Linked DNA regions of Homo sapiens: all the other regions are linked to region 3. Evidence: promoter capture Hi-C in 16 types of primary human blood cells and fetal thymus (Javierre and others, 2016). All regions are on one chromosome and are shown on one strand. Each heading gives the region's core, a stretch centred on a gene start or on the middle of the fragment in contact. The rest is flanking DNA. Distances are from core to core; before and after follow the strand shown.

Region 1 (3,367 bases), core at 815-3,314, 3.1 Mb after region 3:
TTACTAGTATAACTCCTCATTAATGCACAGTAAAATTTTAGGTAACGATTTTGGATTTTAGGTCAGATTCTACCACAACTGGATTGTGTAACCCTGAGCAAGTTGCTTACCGCTTTGTGTCTATCCACATCCTCACCTGTAAAAATCAGTTCTAAATCTCAATATTAAAAAATCTCACCCCGTTATTTCTAAAAGTAAGAAGTTTCTGAAAAGACTTTCAGCTTTTCAACTCTAGTGTTTTCTATGTGCTGAGGTGCTTCATTCGTAACAAGACTGGGTTATAAAACTAACATTTTTGCTATTCAATACAAATGAGCTATATCCATTTTTACCTTAATGAGAATGTCATCTAAGCAAAATCTGTGGGAATCACAAAATTGAAACCCATTAGAAAGAGAAAATATTAATCAAAAGACATTCCTTGCTTTATGACCTTTTATCTAAATCTCCTACGTATTAACTAAAAGACATTTTGCAGTAAAATTGAACCCTGCAAAATCTGGACGTACAGCTGACCCTTGAACAATACTTGGGTTGGGGCACCAACCCCCTGTGCAGTCGAAAACCCACACCTAACTTTGATTCACCAAAAACTTAACTACTAATAGCCTACTACTGACCGAAAGCCGTACCAATAACATAAACAACTGACAGATATGTTGTATGTTAATATATTACGTACTATATTCTTACAATAAAGCTAAGAAAATATTAAGAAAGTCGTAGGAAAGGGAAAATACATTTACACTACTGCACTGCATTTATCAATACTATAAGTTTACATAATTTGATTACAAGATGAATCCTCTGTCTGAAATGGGGTTGGGGGGCAACCTCCAACTGCAGACCTCTATCTACAGTACATATCAAACAAATCAACTTTTTCTTGTAATGTCTTTTTTCTCTGCTTCTTGGGAGCACCTGCAGCATCACCAGTGGCACGTCATATGGGACCCATGGTGTTATTTAAGGTTTATGGTATTGCATTAAATTTGATGAAATCTGTTTACTGCTATATGCAATTTACTTGACAGACAAAAGCAGAGTGATTATTTTAAGAAGATACTGGTAACATCTGAGCTTACTGCAAAAGCAACAGGAAGTGGCTACAAAATTATTACAGTAGTACAGTATCTACTACAGATAATTTTATGCAACTAAGATTTAATGCTACATCTTTGCTTGTTTACATTTATCTCAATTGCAAATAGCTCCATGTAAGATCTGTGTTTGTGTAAGTTTTGATAAATTTTAACTTTTTATAATAGATTTGTGTATATTTTATGGTAGTAAATGATAAACTAGTATCTACACATATGCATTCATGGCATAATTTTTTCTTAATTTTTTCACTATTTCTAGGCTATGCAAGTTTGCTAAGTTTTTCAAATTGTTGCAAATGTCAAAACAATTTTCCAATATGTTTATTTCAAAAAATTTGTGTATAAGTGGACCCGTGCAGTTCAGATCCATATTGTTTAAGGGTCAACTGTACTTGCTAAATGTGTAGAACCGGATTGTCCATCACAACCTACTTCGATAATGGAAAAGCTTTTATTTGCACTGTCCAGTACAGCAGACTCTAGCCACATGTAGCTATTGAGCACCTGAAATATGGGTAGTGAAACTGAGCAACTAAATTTTAAAGCTTATTAAATACTAATTAATTTTAGCTTAAATTTATCCAGATATGATTAGTGGCTACAGTTTAAGTCTAGAAGATCACAAAATATTAGAATGTAACAATCCACTGTTCTCTGCTACATAAACTTTCTGTACCCCTAGGCTTTAAGTGACATTTTAAAAAGCATATTTTTGATGTTATACTATTTTCAGCCCAAGTATTTGAAGTGTTTCAAGAGAGTATATACAAATAAAAACTGTTTTTTTTAAAAAATGAAATGTCCTGAATCCAACATTACGCTGGTAAAGAAGAGAGTATAGGAAATAGTATCACAACCACTAGAATATTCACACAAGATCTCTTCTCTATATTGCCACACTTCAGTTCCTGATCAACCCCTACCCCAACAAAGTCCCATCCCATACTTACCCATAAATATCAATTTTAAATTGGTCCTAATATATTAAAAGTAAGTACAACTACGCACTTAACTAAATGGGTCCACCATATTCCCAAGACATTTCCCAATATTCTTTCTAGATTTTTCAAGAGCAAAATGTACCAGACTTTTCTGTATCTCCCACTCTTAGCTATCTGATGTTAGCTGCCTTTCCTAACTTTATGGTTCTTTCCGTCACAATTCCTGCATCAAATTCAATTCTCTGATGGTCTGACGCCTTGCTCCCTCTGTTACTACTAAACCTGGAGAAATAAAATATCCAAACTTCTCTTTTGGGCTCCGTAAAGTAATGCTGTCCCTGGTCCCTATTTCTGGGTTTAATCAGTAAATTATTTCATCAAGATCTTCGAAGTTCAAAAGTTCCTATCACATATACAATCAGATTCCAAATAACTTTAAGCTTTCACTAAGCAAGCTTCTAAATTCAGACTAGTAAACTAATTTAACTATCAGTCAAAAACTTGACAGACTATTTGGGAATGAGAAATGTATTTCTTTGCTACTATTTGTTTTGTTAAAAATAGAGCTTAAACAACATATGCCAAGCACTAGTGACATAAAAATAAAAAAGACTCAGCCCCTGCCCTTGAGGAGGTCACAGCAAAGCAAGAGATTTATAAAAACAACTATAATACATAAGATGAACAATATAAAAAAACTTTGCATAAAGCACAGCAGGAACCCACCTATGGGAACAGGTTTACCTGCGTAGGAGGTCATGTCTGTCTGATTCCAACTGCAGCCTCAGAACATAGTCACCGGTGGACTCATATCTCTTACGTGAATAAAAGTGTTATCTTCACCTGAAAATCCAGTTGATTTAAGTCCCTTTCAGCTCTTGGAATTATAATTTTGTGATTAAGCTACTTTAACATCTATCTAGAAGAAACGTGGAAGTTAGGGAGCTGTTTTTATGAATGAGGAGCATAAAGGTCCTACCACAGTGCCTAGCACACCAGGGAGAATTAGATACAGATTTGCAGAAAAAAAGAACGTAAAGGCAGCTCTTATTGTGACTTCTCTCATCTCTCCTAATAATTAGCAAATTTTAGAATATCCGGACCACTTCCGCCCTTAATCACCCACCAGTTAAAGACACTGAGCAGCATCATTCAATCGCTCACACAAAAGTGCAAGTGCGTTCACAGCGCCAAAGAGGGGTGGGTGGAAATCTTAAACTGCTCTTACAAGCACTGGTAACAGTTTGGGAAAATACGTCCTACAGCATCCCACGCGTAGGTGAACTTGGGCTCTCCGTGTGTTCAGTTTGGAGGACATCGACC
Region 2 (3,688 bases), core at 65-2,564, 3.0 Mb after region 3:
TAATTTTCAATGATACTTTTGCCTAGGATCAGATTTAACACTATGAGTTAAAACAAAGCTTTGACCAAGGTACGGTGGTCCATCCTTTTCTCCAGAAGCTGTACCAGCCGGTAGGACGTTCAATTAATCAATGGCTACCACACTGGTCTCCCTCTAGAAAAAGAACTCTATCCCGAATTCTAGACTAATCATCGTTAAACCCAGGAAGGCCCTCTACACCTTTATCTGTCGTTTGTCTTTGGGCTGAACCTATGCCCTGACGGTCTGCGTTCTCGCCATGCTCACAGCCCGCCACGACCCACGGTCCCGTTTCCCTTTTACGGAGCGCGGCGCTGACGCCGCAAGGCCACTTCTATCGCTCCCGACCACGGTCTGTTTCCCCCTCGCCCAGCCCAGTGCTTTCTGCCCATCGGACTCTCGGGGTGTGCTTCTGGCGGTCGGCGTCCTCTCCCGGAGCGGTGACCCCTTCTTTCAACCCCCTCAGGCGTCTTAACCTACACAAGTCATGAGTGGGAACCGGGGCGTTTTGTGTGTGTGGGGAAAAGGCAAGCCCCTTCGCCCCTCAGCCCACCCGCCCCCAGCCCCTACCTGGCGCGATGCGACCCCCCAGTCTCCCCGCGGGGGTCCTGCGCGCCCCGCCCCGTCGTCGCCACCGCCCCCCGGGAGCCGGGCGCCCGGGAGCTCCTCCCCCGGCCCCGGCAGTACGGGCGGCGGCGGCAGCGGCGGATCGCCTGTCTCCAGACCGTGGTCCTCACGCTCCTGGCCGCTCGGGGCGCTGTTGTCCCCGCTGTCACGGCGCTTGCTGGGCGAAGCCGAGGGCTCTGCCATGGTCCCTGCGTCGATTTTGCGCTTTCGGTGCTGCTCTGGGACGCCGAGGAGCTGCCCAGCATGCGCGACCCCGGGCGGCCGGATCCAGAGAGGCGGTGGCGGCGGCTGCTCAGCGAAGTCGCAAAGCAGGAGCCGCTTCCAAGGCACGTGGAACGTCACCGGCTCGGCCGCACGCCGCTTGGCCATGGGCCCAGAGGCTCGGGCGGAGCCCGCCAGGCGCGGGAGACCGAGTGCCGATAGCTGCGGGGGGCGAAGAGCGAGGACTGAGCGCGTGAGAGAGGGACAGGCCGAAGTCGGGCGAGGAGGCGACAGGACGCTGGAGGGGGTAGGGCGGGGCAGCTCGCGCAGGGCCTAGGGCTGGGGCTCCGGCTCGGAGGCAGCTCCCGCGCTCAGCCCTCGCCGCCGCCGAGATGCGGCCCGGACGTTGAGAAGCAACCGCGAAGCGGCGGAGATTCGAACCTGCGCACAACGTGCGCGCGCGCACTCTGTCTGGCCAGGCGGAGCCGCTGGTTGGTGGAGGCTCGCGGGGCGCGCTCCCGAGCGCCCTCGCGACCGGAAGTGCGCGCTCGGGGGTAGGCGGGAAGGCCGCGGCGGGATTAATTAAAGACCCGATCAAGCGGCCCGCAGAGGGGCGTGACCTTGTTTCCTCAGGAGTGTGGCGGTGGTCTTACTACTATGTTCGTTATAGCGCGGTACGTTCTAGACCCTTCTATAGGAAATTTAAAACCTTTAAAATGTGTATTTCCTTCCTCCAGTCAGTGACCACGGGGGCGTCTCCATGAGATTAAGACAAAGATTATAATAGAGTTCCAGACTATCCTGGGCAACATAGCAAGACCTCGTCTCTACAAAAAATCAAAAATAGGCCAGGCTTGTTGGCCTGCCCCTGTGGTCCCAGCTACTCGGGAGGCTGAGGAGGAAGATTCACTTGAGCCTGGGAGGTGGAGGCTGTAGTGAGCCAGAGATCGCACCACTACACTGCAGCCTGGGCAACAGAGCGAGATGCCGTCTCAAAAAAAAAAAAAAAAAAAAGGAAAAGGATAATACAAGCTTTAAATAAAACTAGTGTTTAAGAAGCTTCACAGTAGGTTGTTATTCAAAACAAAAGACTGAAGGGAGTCTGGGCTGAGGGAAGTAGCTAAAGCTAACAGAAAACACAAATCGAAGTGTATGTTTTGCATGTTTTGCGCAGCTGCTGTGGAAGGTGAAGCAGGCCCTACATTCCTGGAAGATCTCTTGATTAAAAACTTATGGAGGAAGTTACAGACAAAATGTGCAGCTCATCCAAAATAGCTGAGTAGTTGGCAAGAACCAAGCCTGAAGCGCAGCTGTCCTTTCTAACTGAAACCTAAAATTGTTGGGCTCTTAATTAATGTTGGAAGGCTGAGTTCCCTGCTTACTATGGGCGGTGGTCAGATCAAGATTCTATGGCCATTACAGCAAAATAGTGTTGTCAGGTGAAGTGAGGTGGAGACAATTGCAGTATATTTACTATTTTATTATTTTTATTTTTTATTTTGTTTGAGACAGGGTCTCTCTCGGCCACCTAGGCGGGAGTGCAGTGGTGCCATCACGGCTCACTGCAGCCGGGCCCCACTGAGCTCAAGCGATCTCCTGTCTGGGCCTCCCAAAGTGCTTGGTTTATAGGTGTGAGCCACCGCATCTGGTCGTATTTACTATTTTAATAGTTTGATAAAGACAGTAACCAAGTAAGCAGAAATGGAAGGAAGAAAATAAGACTATTACCAGTGCTTTGAAGGGAAAAACTATCATCCTCTGTAGAAAAAGTGTGCAAGAAAGATAATTCTATTTTAGTGCTAGGTACTATCTCAGTACTAATTTACCCTGTACCCCTGCATCTCAAGGTGGTTGTGAGAGGACAAGTTAATTATTAGTTATTAACAAGCACAGAAATGTACCAAGTTAGGGTAGTAAGCAATAGCTTTTCTGTTTGGTTTTTACTTTTCTTGTTTGAAATTGGTAACCGGCCGGGTGCGGTGGCTCACGTCTTTAATCCCAGCACTTTTGGGAAGATGAGGTGCACAGATCACCTGAGCCCAGGAGTTCCATACCAGCCTGGCCAACATGGTGAAACCCCATCTCTACAGAAAATACAAAAATTAGCCAGAGGTGGTGCCTTGCACCTGTAGTCCCAGGGAGGCTGAGGTGGGAGGATCGCTTGAACCCTGGAGGCAGAGGCCAAGATTGCACCACTGTACTTCCAGCCTGGGTGACAGTGTGAGACCCTGTCTCCAAAAAAAAAAAAATAAATTGAAAACCCGTCTGTCTCAAACAGAGGAAGAGTTTTGCCATTTTTAAATCAGCAGGAAAGATCTTAATCGTAGTCATCAAGTGCTGTTTGAAAGGTTTTGAGTACCCCCAAAATAATAAGTTTAGCTAATGGTTGGTTCTTTTGTGTTCCTCTTTACAAACGCTCATTTTTTCAAAATTGTGAAACTTATCATATATGCAAAAGGTTGTATAAAATACACATGTAGTTAAAAGAATGATAGTAAGACATACAGCATTCTGTTTCAGAAATAGAATACTACCTATACTAGAACATGACAAGCTCCCTATGCGTCCCTTCCCCACTGGCACATACCCTTCCCTTTCCCTCACTCCCGGTAATTACCGTTTTACATGTTGAGTTAATCATTCCTTTGCTTTTTAACTCTTCCATTTGTATGTCTGTATGTATATTGCTAAATAACTTTTTTTTTTTTTTTTTTGAAACGGGGCTTGCTCTGTTGCCCTGGCTGGAGAGCAGTGATATGATTACAGCTCACTGCAGCCCTGACCTCTCAGGGGCAAGCAGTCCTCCCACCTCAGCCTCCTGAGTAGCTGAGACTACAGGTGT
Region 3 (3,724 bases), core at 101-2,600:
AGATCTCACCAAAGATCAAAGATCTGAACTTTTTTTTTTTTTAAACAAAAACCCCAGGTTAAATACACTCTTTCCTTCACGAGAGCCCCCACACAGTACAATCTAATTTGACATAACTTTGTTTCGGGGTTAAAAAAAATCCCAAACAAAACCTTTAAATTTTCCAATTCAAAAACGATTCCTGATAAGCCTACCTTAGAGTTCGAAAACAAATAAGATTAAAGCCCAACCATCTAAAGAAAAAGAACCCTACGACAGCCCCACCGGAATACACAAATCGCCAAGCCCCGTGCAGATTCAATCTAAAATCGCGCCCGACAGAGATATAAGGACATTCAGGAGAAAGCTTTTAGGCACCCGCGAATCTCTCAGTGCGCCAGTGAGGGGAATGGGAACCTGACCCCATCTTTTCATCCACTGAGAGAAAAGCAAAGGAAATGAAATGGAACCCTTCTCTTCACCGAGGAGGACCAAAGACCTTCTTAGAGTGTCGGTCGGTCCTCCCTCCCCCACCCCCTGACTCCGGCCGCTCCACGGACCGCAGGGACTGTCCTACCGCTCCCCTTCACGCAACCATCAGAGAATCCTCTCAAAAACACAGACCCGATGAGGAGTGGCTTCCCCGCCTTTCCCCTGTGCCGAGAAGGGATCCCGGTCGCCAACAACAAAGACGCTTCCCGCTCCCCTCCCCCCGCCGGCCCGGGCTCGTCCCTCCCGCGCTGCGGCTCCCGGCCTAGCGCCCCCTCCCCGAGCCGGGCTGCGGCGTCCCCAAACCCCGAGGCCGCACGCACCTGCACCTGAGCGGCCCGGGCCGAAGCGCCGGGCAGAAGGGGTCGAGAGAGAACCGCAGCCGACGCGCTGTCCTCCACAAGGCGAGATCCGCGCTCCGGGCGCCGTCCGACTCTCTCCGCCTGCAGACTGGCCCGACAGAGGAGCGGGGACCAGGGCTACAGCCCCCGGCGCCGGGGCGAAGAAGGACGGCGGCGCCCCAGGGGCCCCGCTCACGCTCCCGAGTCTCGCCTCGCGCCGGCCCTGCTCCTCCACAAGAGCTCGCGTTCTGCTGACTAACGGCCCCGGTGCGGGGCGCTGGAGCGGCCGCCGCTGCCCGTCGGTTGCTCTCGGGCCTCACGTCCCGCGCGGCCGTGGTCGCAGCCGCCGCCGCCACCGCCTCCCTTTCTGGCACTGCAGACGCCACCCAGACCTAGCCAGGTCTTCCTTCTCTTTAATCCTGCTTTCTTTGCTCCTCCTCAGCCTGCCAAGCGCGAGGCTCGTTCCGGTAGCGGGAGGAAGACTGGAGGGGAACGGAGGGGACGAGCACAATCCCCACTGAGCCAGGAGTTGGCCACTGACTGGAGGAAGGTGCCAAAGCTGACCCCGGCTCCAGCCTACTAGCGGGCGGGGGGAGAGACGGAGCCCAGCCTTGCCTCACTTCCACCAATCAGAGGCCGCCCGGCAGGGTGGGAGGCGCTCTGAGCTCAAGGAGAGGCTGAGCTCGCTCAGCAGGAGGCGGGGATTGCGGAAAAGAAGAACCAATAGGAACAAAGGTTCCCCGCCCCTTTGATTTGATGGACTACACATTCGGGCCAATGGGGGAATTCTCATTTCGAAGAAAGTGGGACTTGTTCTCCGGGTTTGAGAAAGAGGCTGCGCGGAGCCGGAGGGGTCGAGGCTGCGCCGCGTGGAGTGGCTTGGCTTAACAGCAGGGAGGGCAGAGCGATGCTCTTTGACCTCCCAGAAGAGTCACGTGGGCTGACCCAGAGCCGGGGCGGAAAGGCTGCGTTTGTTTCTTCCGGGTCATTGACAGAAGCGTCAATTCCTGGGAGTAGTTCGTTGGTTTTCTTTCCCCTCATCCTTTTGCCTGCTCCCGGCGAGGGGTGGCTTTGATTTCGGCGATGAGCTCCCAGAAAGGCAACGTGGCTCGTTCCAGACCTCAGAAGCACCAGAATACGTTTAGCTTCAAAAATGACAAGTTCGATAAAAGTGTGCAGACCAAGGTAGGAACCTGCCTGTTGCACCGTCTTTGACTCCAGGAAGGAATGGCTCACTGGAGAGGGGAGAGAGGAAATGAGAGGAGTCGGCTGGGGCGAGTGTGGACCGCAGCCCAGAGTTAGTCTTGGCTGCAGTGCAACTCTTTCTAAAATGTTATTCTCACGCCCTTTCTTTGACCTGGACATGTTGTCTCCTGGTAAATATTTGATGGTCAGCACACTTAACTAATTGCACAGAGTGAACAGGACCCTAATGAAATCTAAGGTGCAGATGGGGCAGTTACGTCGTTCAGCGTTCCCATCTGGATCACATTAGCAGAGGGAAACGAGGATTGTGGCATGAGTGGCTTTTTCAAATTTTACACCAAGTTTATGCAGCTACGATTTTTTTTTCCAAAAACCCCAAGCCCATAGAGGAAATGTGAATGATTAAGCTGTCTTAGGCTGTCCTCACTAGTATTGTGTGAAATTTCTGTTTTGTAACAATTGTTTTGAAGATAAAAATATTTGGTTAATGTAAAAATACTTGTTTTGCTGTTTATCTTTAGCAGGACTTCTGTAAAGTCCTGCTAAAAAATTCAGACTGTCTAGATAGCCAGAGGACTTGGGTTGTATATAAGTACTAATTTGCAGGCCGGGCGCCGTGGCTCAAAGTGCTGTAATCCCAGCACTTTGGGAGGCCGAAGCGGGTGGATCACCTGAGGTCAGGAGTTCGAGAACGACCTGGTCAACATGGCGAAACTCCATCTGTACTAAAAATACAAAAATTAGCCGGGCGTGGTGGCGGGCGCTTGTAATCTCAGCACTTTGGGAGGCCGAGGTGGTGGGCGGATCACCTGAGGTCAGAAGTTCGAGAACGACCTGGCCAACATGGCGAAACTCCCAATCTGCTAAAAATACAAAAATTAGCCGACGTGGTGACGGGTGCCGGTAATCCCAGCTACTCGGGAGGCTGAGGCAGGGGAATCGCTTGAACCCTGGAGGCGGTGGTTGCAGTGAGCTGAGATCACATCACTGCACTCCTGGGCGACAGAGCAAGACTCCGTCTCAAAAAACAAAAACAAAAAACTACTAATTTGCTCTTTGCTGTGAATCTCTCTCCCTGTCTCCATAGCTGTATGGAGAGAAAATCATTGACAACAGGGGCATATTAGGGGCCAGCATCACTCAGATAAACCTAATATTCACAAAAGTTATGGAGCTCAAATTTACTAGGTGTGCGGCTTGAGTGAGTTGTATAATATTTAATTTCTCTGAGCCTTACTTTGGTCTCAAATGCAAATTTGTCAGGATTGTTGGGAGGCGAAACTATATGATTATGCATAAATGGCCTAGGTCATAGTAAGTGTTCAATAAGTGATTAATTTCCCGACATTGATTGGGAAAGCAAAGTCATCTGTTTTTGGTAACCTGTGATCTCCTTTTCCTTTCCTCTTTCTTTCTTTGCTTATTCTACAAATATTTAATAAGCACCTTCCGTGTGCAAGGCCCTGTGTTCATAGGTATACCGTGTTCAAAAGAGCTGACTCTCCCTTCACGGAGTTTATAGTTTCTAGGTGATATGGGCAAAAAGAAAGCAGAAAGATAAGTAAATACAAATTATGATAAATATTGGTGAAGGGCAACACAGCTCAGTAAGGGAGAATAAGGAAGAATATTTTAAATTAAGTGCTCTCCTTTCCCCCACTTAGGTTGAGAGGTTTTTCAGAATGAAAACCTGAAGCAACATTTGGGAA

Evidence for each region. The method cuts DNA at HindIII sites, captures the fragments that hold promoters and counts their contacts. A CHiCAGO score of 5 or more calls a contact.
Region 1: a fragment that was not itself captured here is called in contact with the fragment with the promoter of ABHD17B in region 3 in 1 of 17 cell types (total B cells); the score reaches 8.5 in total B cells.
Region 2: the fragment with the promoter of C9orf40 here is called in contact with the fragment with the promoter of ABHD17B in region 3 in 1 of 17 cell types (activated CD4 T cells); the score reaches 7.0 in activated CD4 T cells.

Annotation. Positions count from the first base shown.
Region 1 is chr9:75,024,265-75,027,631 of GRCh38, forward strand. All of the region lies in intron 1 of CARNMT1 (carnosine N-methyltransferase 1), which reads right to left. Among named protein-coding and RNA genes, the nearest start is that of CARNMT1, 2.3 kb to the right of the region's middle. RefSeq lists an enhancer at 2,861-2,910. The HindIII fragment of the contact is 836 bases long and covers 1,647-2,482 here.
Region 2 is chr9:74,951,598-74,955,285 of GRCh38, forward strand. C9orf40 (chromosome 9 open reading frame 40) reads right to left here and starts at 1,315. Exons shown (of 2, transcript NM_017998.3): 1 at 589-1,315. The coding sequence starts at 1,014. It overlaps CARNMT1-AS1 (CARNMT1 antisense RNA 1), which reads left to right and starts at 1,368. Exons shown (of 5, transcript NR_121183.1): 1 at 1,368-1,520. RefSeq lists an enhancer at 207-276 and silencers at 607-816, 1,087-1,296. The HindIII fragment of the contact is 1,820 bases long and covers 57-1,876 here.
Region 3 is chr9:71,909,843-71,913,566 of GRCh38, forward strand. It overlaps ABHD17B (abhydrolase domain containing 17B, depalmitoylase), which reads right to left and starts at 1,351. Exons shown (of 4, transcript NM_001025780.3): 1 at 792-1,351. C9orf85 (chromosome 9 open reading frame 85) reads left to right here and starts at 1,797. Exons shown (of 4, transcript NM_182505.5): 1 at 1,797-1,994. The coding sequence starts at 1,893. RefSeq lists a silencer at 875-1,114 and enhancers at 1,565-1,874, 1,945-1,994, 2,005-2,064. The HindIII fragment of the contact is 4,051 bases long and covers 345-3,724 here.